Linked DNA regions of Homo sapiens: region 2 is linked to region 1. The links are contacts of gene promoters, found by promoter capture Hi-C in human tissues and cell types (Jung and others, 2019). All regions are on one chromosome and are shown on one strand. Each heading gives the region's core, a stretch centred on a gene start or on the middle of the fragment in contact. The rest is flanking DNA. Distances are from core to core; before and after follow the strand shown. Region 1 holds the start of PPM1F (protein phosphatase, Mg2+/Mn2+ dependent 1F). Region 2 overlaps UBE2L3 (ubiquitin conjugating enzyme E2 L3).

Evidence for each region. The method cuts DNA at HindIII sites, captures the fragments that hold promoters and counts their contacts. A contact is called where the count stands out against the background at its distance.
Region 2: a contact is called between a fragment that was not itself captured here and the fragment with the promoter of PPM1F in region 1, in 3 of the 25 tissues and cell types used here (heart left ventricle, lymphoblastoid cells and mesendoderm cells).

Annotation. Positions count from the first base shown.
Region 1 is chr22:21,950,429-21,955,102 of GRCh38, forward strand. PPM1F (protein phosphatase, Mg2+/Mn2+ dependent 1F) reads right to left here and starts at 2,420. Exons shown (of 8, transcript NM_014634.4): 1 at 2,364-2,420. RefSeq lists enhancers at 1,573-1,642, 1,689-2,209 and a silencer at 2,203-2,612. The HindIII fragment of the contact is 12,140 bases long and covers 1-4,674 here.
Region 2 is chr22:21,616,553-21,621,226 of GRCh38, forward strand. The region is part of intron 3 of UBE2L3 (ubiquitin conjugating enzyme E2 L3); the gene reads left to right. Among named protein-coding and RNA genes, the nearest start is that of YDJC, 11 kb to the right of the region's middle. The HindIII fragment of the contact is 9,374 bases long and covers 1-4,674 here.

The DNA.
Region 1 (4,674 bases), core at 1,170-3,669:
GCATTAGTTTTGACTCCTAAGCTTAACGAATGCAGGGTTTAACAACTGCAGTTTTTTAGGGGACATAGAAAAAATACTTGTTGAGTCTTGCTTAACTGCAGAACCAAGGTAATGAAAAAAACCCAGCAATCCTTAGAAAAGGGAACTGCACCACTATAGTGTAACAAAAGCATCATTCATGTTAACTGTTTTTTTTTGTTTTTGTTTTTTTTGAGACAGAGTCTTGCTCTGTCACCCAGGCCGGAGTGCAGTGGCGCAATCTTGGCTCACGGCAACCTCCGCCTCTCAGGTTCAAGTGATTCTCCTGCCTAAGCCTCCCTAGTAGCTGGGATTACAGGCACCCACAACCACGCCTGGCTAATTTTTTTGTATTTTTAGTAGAGATGGGGTTTCACCATGTTGGCCAGGCTGGTCTCGAACTCCTGACCTCAGGTGATCTGCCCGCCTCAGCCTCCCAAAGTGCTGTGATTACAGGTATGAGACACCACGCCTGGCCAACCTTTTTCTACCAAAAGAGATTCTTATTTCTTTATTCATAACTACTAATACTAATAATAGTTAGATGTAAATCCTAGATTTTTTTTCTACATATATAAATTTTTTTTATTGTTGTAAAATATACACACTATGTATCCTTTTAACCATTTCTAAGCGTACAGTTCCATGGCATTAAGCATAGTCACATTGCTGTGCAATGACCATTTCTTTCTACAGGCCTGACTTTCTTGATAGACTGTAAGCTCCCTGTAGTCAGGGAGCCCACGATGGCCCTTTGTGTACAGCAGGTGGTAAGTGTGATGGCAGAGGGAAGAGTGACTGGCGGGTGGCATGGGCTGAGGAAGCTACACCACTCTGAAGGGTGCAGTGGGCAGCAGCGCCAGGTCTTAAAAGACTCGGTTGGCTTCAGGTCAGATGGTATCCTTTTTTTTTTTTTTTTTTTTTTTGAGAGGGAGTTTCGCTCTTGTTGCCCAGGCTGGAGTGCAATGGTGGGATCTCAGCTCACTGCAACCTTCGCCTCCCAGGTTCAAGCAATTCTCCTGCCTCAGCCTCCTGAGTAGCTAGGATTACAGGCACCTGCCACCACGCGCGGCTAATTTTTGTATTTTTAGTAGAGATGGGATTTTGCCATGCTGGTCTGGAACTCTTGACCTCAGGTGATATGCCTGCCTCGGCCTCCCAAAGTGCTGGGATTACAGGTATGAGCCACCGCGCCCGGCCTTCAGGGGGTATCTTAAAGGAATTCCACAAATGAACTTGTGTAGAGGTTCATGGCTTTCAGAAATGCATTCGTTTTGTTTACCTCTCACAACTACGCTGAGAAGTACATACTGTCAGGCTACACTGCAGATGAAGAAATAGGTTATAGGAGGGCAAGCACCCATTTAAGGTCTCACACAGGTGAAAGGGCAAAGCGAACTCAATCAAGGTCTCTGGATGCCCAATGCCTTTGGTATTTCCACCTCGCGTGCAGGAGGAAAAGAGCGAAATTTGACAACAGAAGAGACTGGAGATGGCCTCAGAGTGCTGGCCGGCCCCACTTTCTATCCCCCGTGGTGAGAGCTCAGCTGGGCCCAGAGAACTTGTCCCGGGGAATGCCACCACGACATGTGTGACTCTGTCCCGCAGGGTGGAAGGCTTCGAAGGAGCCCGCCACCATGCAGTGGGCCTCACTGTGTGTCAAGCGCTGTGCCGAAATCCCTGCAGCCGGAGCCAGTTCTTCCTGTTGTACAGACAGGTTCAGGGGCTTGCCTGACCGAACCCAGCGGCAATGTGCCCGGCCTCCGCGCCTGAGGCTCTGGCTCACAGACCTGTGGCTGAAGCAGCTGCAGCCCGAGCACTTGTGCAGCTGACGCTCGCTTCACGGACGCTTGGGAGGCCGCGGAGCCGGGGGCCATCAGGCAGACTGGGCCCCTGAAGGTGCAGGGACTGGGGGGATATGGGGCAACGTGCCGGCCCAGAGGCTCCTGGGGGGTGGGGAGAGGCCAAATCTCGGAAAATGGGGCGCGTCCCCCTCAGCACCCGATTCTGCCTCATAGCCCTCGGTCCCTACCAGGCCCTCGGCTCGGCCACACCCCCGCCTGCCCCCCAGTTCTGCCCCCTTGGCTCCCCAGCCCCCCAACTCCCAGCCTCGGGTTCCTCATGTCCGCAGCGGCCCCTCTTGCTCCTCGGCCCCCCGCACTGCACCCCCGCACCCTTTCGGTGCACCCATGTGAGCCTCGTCTCGGCCTCCTTGCCTCCCCAGCCCTCTGATTCCACCCCTCCGGTTCCTCGGTCCCATTTCACCCCTGTGCGCCTTGGGCGCTCGCCTGACCCTCGTCCCAGCCCCGTCAGCCCTCTAATCCCGTCCCCCCCGGCCTCCTCACCCCTGGTCTCCGCGGGCCTCAGCTGTCTCCTCGCGGCTCCGTGTCCCGCAAGCTGCTGCCGGCCGGCCCCGCCCACTTCCCGTCCCTGGCCGCCGCGGGCGCCGCGGGCGCCGCGCAGGCGCAGTCGGGCCTCCAGGCTGGCGGGGCCGGACCTCTGCTGCCCCCTGGCGGCTACGTGGACGGTGACTGCGGCCCTTTAGTGGTAGGCGAACTGCGGCTCCACCTGGGCTCCGGAGCCGCCCCAGTCACCAGCCTCTTGCTTCTCTTCTGCAGCTTTGGGTGGGCGGCTGGATGGGGAAAGCAATCCCTAGGTCACAGCGCCCAGAAATTAAGCAACTTCTGCCGTCAATAGCTGGTAAGTGACAGAGCAGGGATGCAAACCCAGACTGCCCAGGCAGGCTCATCCGTCCGGGAAGGAGGCACAGTCCCAGGCTCATTATGAGTTGTTTGTTTCCACAAACGTTGAGGCTTTTGTTATCTTTCCGTTCTGGAGGTCAGAAGTCCACTTAGCCTCAGTGGGCGAAGATCCAGGGATCGCCAGAATGCGTTCCTTTCTGAGGATTCTAGGGGAGAAACTGTTCCCCTGCCTTTTCCAGCTCCTAAGGGCTCCCTGCATACCTTGGCTCGTGGCCCCTTCCTACAGCCTCGAAGCCAGCAATGGCCAGTTGAGCCTTTCTCACACTGCCACCTCTGGTTCCCTCCTCTGCTTCCTTCTGCTACTTCTAAAGACCCTCCTGATGCCATTGGGCCCACCCAGATAGTCCAGCATCATCTCTCTAAATCAGTTGATTAGCAACCTTAATTCCCCTTTGCCCCTTATTATTATTATTATTTTTTTTTGACACGGAGTCTCACCCTGTCACCCAGGCTGTACTGCAGTGGCATGACCTCGACTCACTGCAACCTCTGCCTCCCTGGTTCAAGCGATTTTCCTGCCTCAGCCTCCCGAGTAGCTGGGACTGCAGGCACGCACCACCATGCCCGGCTAATTTTTTTTGTATTTTTAGTAGAGATGGGGTTTCACCATGTTGGTCAGGCTGGTCTCAAACTCCTGACCTCAAATGATCTGCCTGCCTCGGCCTCCCAAAGTGCTGGGATTACAGTACAGGCGTGAGCCACTATGCCGGGTCTGCCATGTAATCTAACACAGGCACAGGTATAGGACATGAACATCTCTGAAGGGCCATTTTTCTGCCAACACAGAGGCTCTTGAAAATATTCTTTTTCTCTCTTTTTAGAGACAAGCTCCTTCTCTGGTGCCCACACTGGAGTGCAGTGGCATGATCACAGCTCACTGCAGCCTCAAACTCCTGGGCTCAAGTGACCCTCCCCTCCTGCCTCAGCCTTCCTAGTGTCTGGGAACACAGGCAAGCACCACCACGCCCAGCTGATTAAAAAAAATTTGTAGAGACAGGGTCTCTATGTTGCCCAGGCTGGTCTTGAACTCTTGGGCTCAAGTGATCCTCCTGCCTCAGCCTTCCCAAGTGCTGGGATTATAGGTGTGAACCATTACACCTGGCCAAAATATTTTATTTTAAAGGCAGAAGAAAGAAACCTTTATGTCAAAGAAAATGTTTTAATATATGATATTAATATATTCACCTTTATACCAATGCCGTTGGAAAGTATAATTTTTTAAATGGAGGATGGGGCACCAGATCTTATGTGGCTCTGCCCACCTGACCTTCAGGTCCGCAGGCCTGTGTCCTTGCCAGGAATGAATGTCTCTGGGATGCTTCTCTAACAGGAGGAACCTGGAGTGAGACCAGGAACCTGGAGAACTAGCAGCTGGGTGACTGGAAAGGAAACCATCTGGGGTGGGGTTGGGTCTGCAAGGCAGGAGGTGTCTGGGCAGAGAAAGCAGGGCTGGGGCGGAGGGTCCTGCCTCATCCCATTCTCCTGCTCACTCTTTCCTAGATCCCTGTCAGGGCAGTAACCATGAGCAAGGCTTGAGGCTACTTCTTATAAACAGTGGCCCTGGGCACATTCCTTAGCTCACCTGAGCCTCAGTTTCTTGATGAGAAAAAATCGGGACAATAGCAACCAACCTATCTCAGAGGGCTGCTGTGAGACCCTGAGCCACTGTTTCTCAAACTGCCCCTGAGATCACCTACAACAGAATGGCTGTAGGGTGAAGTTTGAGAACCGCAGTACAGGTGAGGTGGTGCGTGGGGCAGGCCCTCCCACACTGTAAAGTGCAGTGTGGTGCGGTAAAAGCTGATATTCCCGCAGGCATCCTCAGAGTGGGCCCAATTAGACTCTTGAGCACTGATTCCATTCAAGGTCTGCGGCTTAGAGAGGATGGCAAAGT
Region 2 (4,674 bases), core at 1,034-3,533, 330 kb before region 1:
GAGGCAGGAGAATCACTTGAACCCGAGAGGCGGAGGTTGCAGTGAGCTGAGATCACGCTACTGCACTCCAGCCTGGGTGACAGAGTGAGAGCGAGACTCCATCTCCAAAAAAAAAAAAAAAAATTAGCCAGGCGTGGTGACAGGCACCTGTAATCCCAGCTACTTGGGGGGCAAAAAAACAAAACAAAACACCCCCCCCCTTTTTTTAAAGCACATTCCATGGAAGGCTACAACATTGCATATCTTTTTGGGTTGAAGGTACATTGACATTTTATTCTTTGACAATGAAGCTCCCTGGATTTTTATGAAAAGGAGGGGAAATCACAAATATTGTTTACATCCGCTATTGCAGAGAAACTGTCATTAAGAACAAAAGGGCCAGGCACGGTGGCTCATGTCTGTAATCCCAGCACTTTGGGAGGCCGAGGCGGGCAGATCACGAGGTCAGGAGATCGAGACCATCCTGGCTAACACGGTGAAACCCCGTCTCTACTAAAAACACCAAAAATTAGCCGGGCGTGGTTGCGGGCACCTGTAGTCCCAGCTGCTGCCACTGCACTCCAGCCTGGGCAACAGAGCGAAACTCTGTCTTAAAAAAAAAAAAAAAAAAAGAAAAGGAACAAAAGGAAGGAAATATTATAGGCTTTATTCTCTGATGAGAATATAGTGAGAGTAAAAGGTAAAATTGGCTAATTTGTTGTGTGGGTTTTTTGTTTTTTGTTTTTTGTTGGGGGGACAGAGTCTCACTTTGTCACCCAGGCTGGAGTGCAGTGGCATAATCTTGGCTCATTGCAACCTCCGCCTCCTGGATTCAAGCATTTCTCCTCCCTCAGCCTCCCGAGTAGCTGGGACTACAGGCGCATGCCACCACACCTGGCTAGTTTTTTGTATTTTAGTAGAGACAAGGTTTCACCATATTGCCCAGGCTGGTCTTGAACTCCTGAGCTCAGACAGTCTGCCCACTTCGGCTTCCCAAAGTGCTAGGGTTACAAGTGTGAGCTGCTGCGCCCGGCCTGTTGTATGTTTTTAAGCCCCTACATTTTGCAGAAAAAAAAAGTACTTCTGAGGAGCATTTGGGTCATGGAAGAGACCAAGAACCCAGGGCTGGATGTTTTATAAAATATAATTTTAATATGCTGTCCTATATATGAAAAATGTTGATAGAGGGCCACAGTTGTAATTTGTAAAGCAGACAATCTGTCAGGTGTTCTTACTAGCAAAATAAGTTCAGCTCAGCTGAAGTTTATTATAGTTTAGCTAAGGAGCCAGAAATGCACCCAGGGGAACAGCGAAAGAATGAAATACTTATCAGAACTACTAAGTAAATTTAAAAATACTCAGACTTGAGGCCGGGCATGGTGGCTCATGCCTGTAATCCCAGCACTTTGGGAGGATGAGATGGGTGGATCATGAGGTCAGGAGATCAAGACCATCCTGGGTAACATGGTGAAACCCCATCTTTACTAAAATTACAAAGAATTAGCAAGGCGTGGTGGCGGATGCCTGTAGTCCCAGCTACTGGGGAAGTTGAGGCAGGAGAATCCCTTGAACCCAGGAGGTGGAGGTTTCAGTGAGCTGAGATTGTGCCACTGCACTCCAGCCTGGGCGACAGAGTGAGACGCCATCTCAATTAAAAAAAAAATTCAGACTTGATCAAATTAGTGAAACTATAAAAAATAACGAAATAGACAAATGGCATCTTTTGAGAAATAGGTCTTTAAATTTTTATTTTGCCAGGTGCAGTGGCTCACGCCTGTAATCCAGCACTTTGGGAGGCGGAGGCAGGTGGATCACGAGGTCAGGAGATCGAGACCATCCTGGCTAACACGGTGAAACCCCGTCTCTACTAAAAAATTACAGAAAATTAGCCGGGCATGGTGGCAGGTGCCTGTAATCCCACTACCCGGGAGGCTGAGGCAGGAGAATGGCATGAGCCTGGGAGGCGGAGCTTGCAGTGAGCCGAGATTGTGAGCTGTGATTGTGCCACTAACTCAGCCTGGGCGACAGAGCGAGACTCCATCTCAAAAAATATATATATATATTATTTTTTTTTTGCGATAGGGTCTTGCTGTGTCACTCAGGCTGAGTATAGTGGCACAATCACAGCTCACTACAGCCTCAATATTGTGGGCTCAAGCAATCATCCCACCTCAGCCTCCCAAGGAGCTGGGACTACAGGCATGTGCCACCACAACCGGCTAATTTTATTTTTTATTTTTTGTAGAGGCCAGGTCTTGCTATGTTGCCCAGGCCAGTCTCAGACTCCTGGCCTCAAGTGATCCTTCCTCCTTGGCCTCCCAAAGTGCTGGGAATACAGGTGTGAGCCACCAACCTCTGCATTAGTTACCAAGGTGATGATAGTGAGAAGTAGAGAGCCTAAGTATTCATATCAGAGAGTGAGGTGAAAACTCCTGAGCGTGCCCCTAACGAAGTACTCAGCCTGTCCTTAGCCCAGTGAGGTTTCTAAAATGCTAATGCGGTAGTAATTCTCCTGTTACAGGGCCATTTCTAATCATGGGAAAGGAAGGGGAGCCACCTATTTGTGCTCTTAGGCGACTGTGGCTCAATTTCCAGCCCTGAAGTCAAGAACAGCCAGGAAAAGGGAGCAGTCTCACACCGAGGGTGGTGTGCACTGAAATACACTGTGGCCAGTCAGCCAAGGGTGGGCTTCGTTTATTAAATAAATAAATAAATGTTTATTAAATAAAAATATACCTCCAGGGCCTGCTGCCTCTAGAGGTACAGGTGGCTTGTACAGGGAGGTGATACCACCTACCCCTGAAGAGGCTTAGAGACTGAATTAGAGGCCACCCTGGCCTGCAGAGAGCTTTCCAGGCCCCTTGCCCCTGCTTGCTGTTCACAGTCCACCCTCCTTGCCCATCCACCCCCAACAAACGTGGAACCTGTCAGCATTGCATGCGCAATGCCCTCCTCGCCTCTGCCCCACTGCTTCACCTCTACCCACTGTGGTCACAGGAGCCCTCTCTTTCCCATTCTCACCAGGCACAGTAAAAAGCAGAGGTTAGGCAGGTGGGTTTTGGACACCAGGCCAGGAGTACTTTGTGCTGTGGCCCTCACTTAATGTGTGCTGTTGAATGATTATGCCTTTGCATATGACTCAGCCAGCATCAGCATTTTGTTTTATTTATTTACTTTTGAGACAGAGTCTCGCTCTGTTGCCCAAGCTAGAGTGCAGTGGCACGATCTCGGCTCACTGCAACTGCCGTCTCCCGGGTTCAAGCGATTCTCCTGCCTCAGCCTCCTGAGTAGCTGGGACTCTAGGCATGGGCCACCATGCCTGGCTAATTTTTGTATTTTTAGTAGAGACGGGGTTTCACCATGTTGCCCAGGCTGGTCTTGAGCTCCTGACCTCAGGTGATCTGCCTGGCTAGCATTTGCATTTTAATCCATTTCTTGTAATGCTGAATGAACAATATGAGCCCTTAATAAAGGAATTGACCAGGTGCAGTGGCTTCATGCCTGTCATCCTAGCACTTTTGGGAGGATGAGGCGGTAGGATCACTCAAGCCCAGGAGTTTGAGACCAGCCTGGGCAACATAGTGAGACCCCATCTCTACAAAAAACTAGGCCAGGAGCAGTGGCTAACACCCGTAATCCCAACTACTCTCAAGGCCAAGGTGGGAGGATTGTTTGAGCCCAGGAGATAAGACTGCAGTGAGCTGTGATTGCACCACTGTACTCTAGCCTAGGTTAAAAAAAAAAATTAGCTGGACGTGATGGCATGTGCTTGTAGTCTCAGCTACTCAGGAAGCTGAGGCAGGAGGATCATTTACACCCAGGAGTTTGAGGGTACCGTGCAGTAAAGTATGATTGAGCCACTGCACTCCAGTCTGAGTGACAGCAAGACTGTCTAAAAAAAATAAGAAGGAATTTGTGGCATCAGCAGTTCGGAGAAGAGGGGCACTGTTTTACAGTGGGAAGGAACATTCTGAGGGTGCTGGTCCTGACAGGGTCAGGGGGCAACTGTGGCAAAGTATGTGAGGAGGTGTGGGTAGCAGCTGCTTCTGATTCCCCACTATCCTTCCACCCTGGGGCACGTCTGGGCTACGGCACCTAGGGGGAGTACTGTGGCACCCATCAGAGCCATCAGCGTGACATCTGCCTGTGGTCTTGACAATGTGATGCGATGGCGGTTGTCAGCTTCCCATTGGCTGGCCCCAGTGACCCTTTCTAGAGGGTTCAGAAACTCCTAAGGGTCTTCCAGAGTTGGGTCATTGCGCATTGACAAGTGCAGCGCCATCACATACCCTTCTCTCTAGTGCCCACTCAGTCACCTTAACCGAAACTTCCCTGAGCCGAGCATGGTGCTGGGTGCTGGGCTGATGCAGGGAAGTTCTACCCGGTCCTGCCCTGAAGAAAGTGACCCTGTGTGCATGCATGAGAGTGAGCAGTCAGTTCAATACTAGGCCTCCTATCTCCAGAGTACACAAGAGGACTGGATTAGCCGGGCATGGTGGTGCACGACTGTAGTCCTGGCTACTTGGGGGACTGAGGCTGGAGGATTGCTTGAGGTCAACCCAGGAGGTTGAGGCTGCAGTGAGCCAAGATGGTGCCACTGCACTGCAGCCTAGGTGACAGAGTGAGACCCTGTCCCTCCTCCCCAACCCCCCGCCAAGAAAAAAGGGCTGGGAGTGACTGAGGGCTAAGACCTCC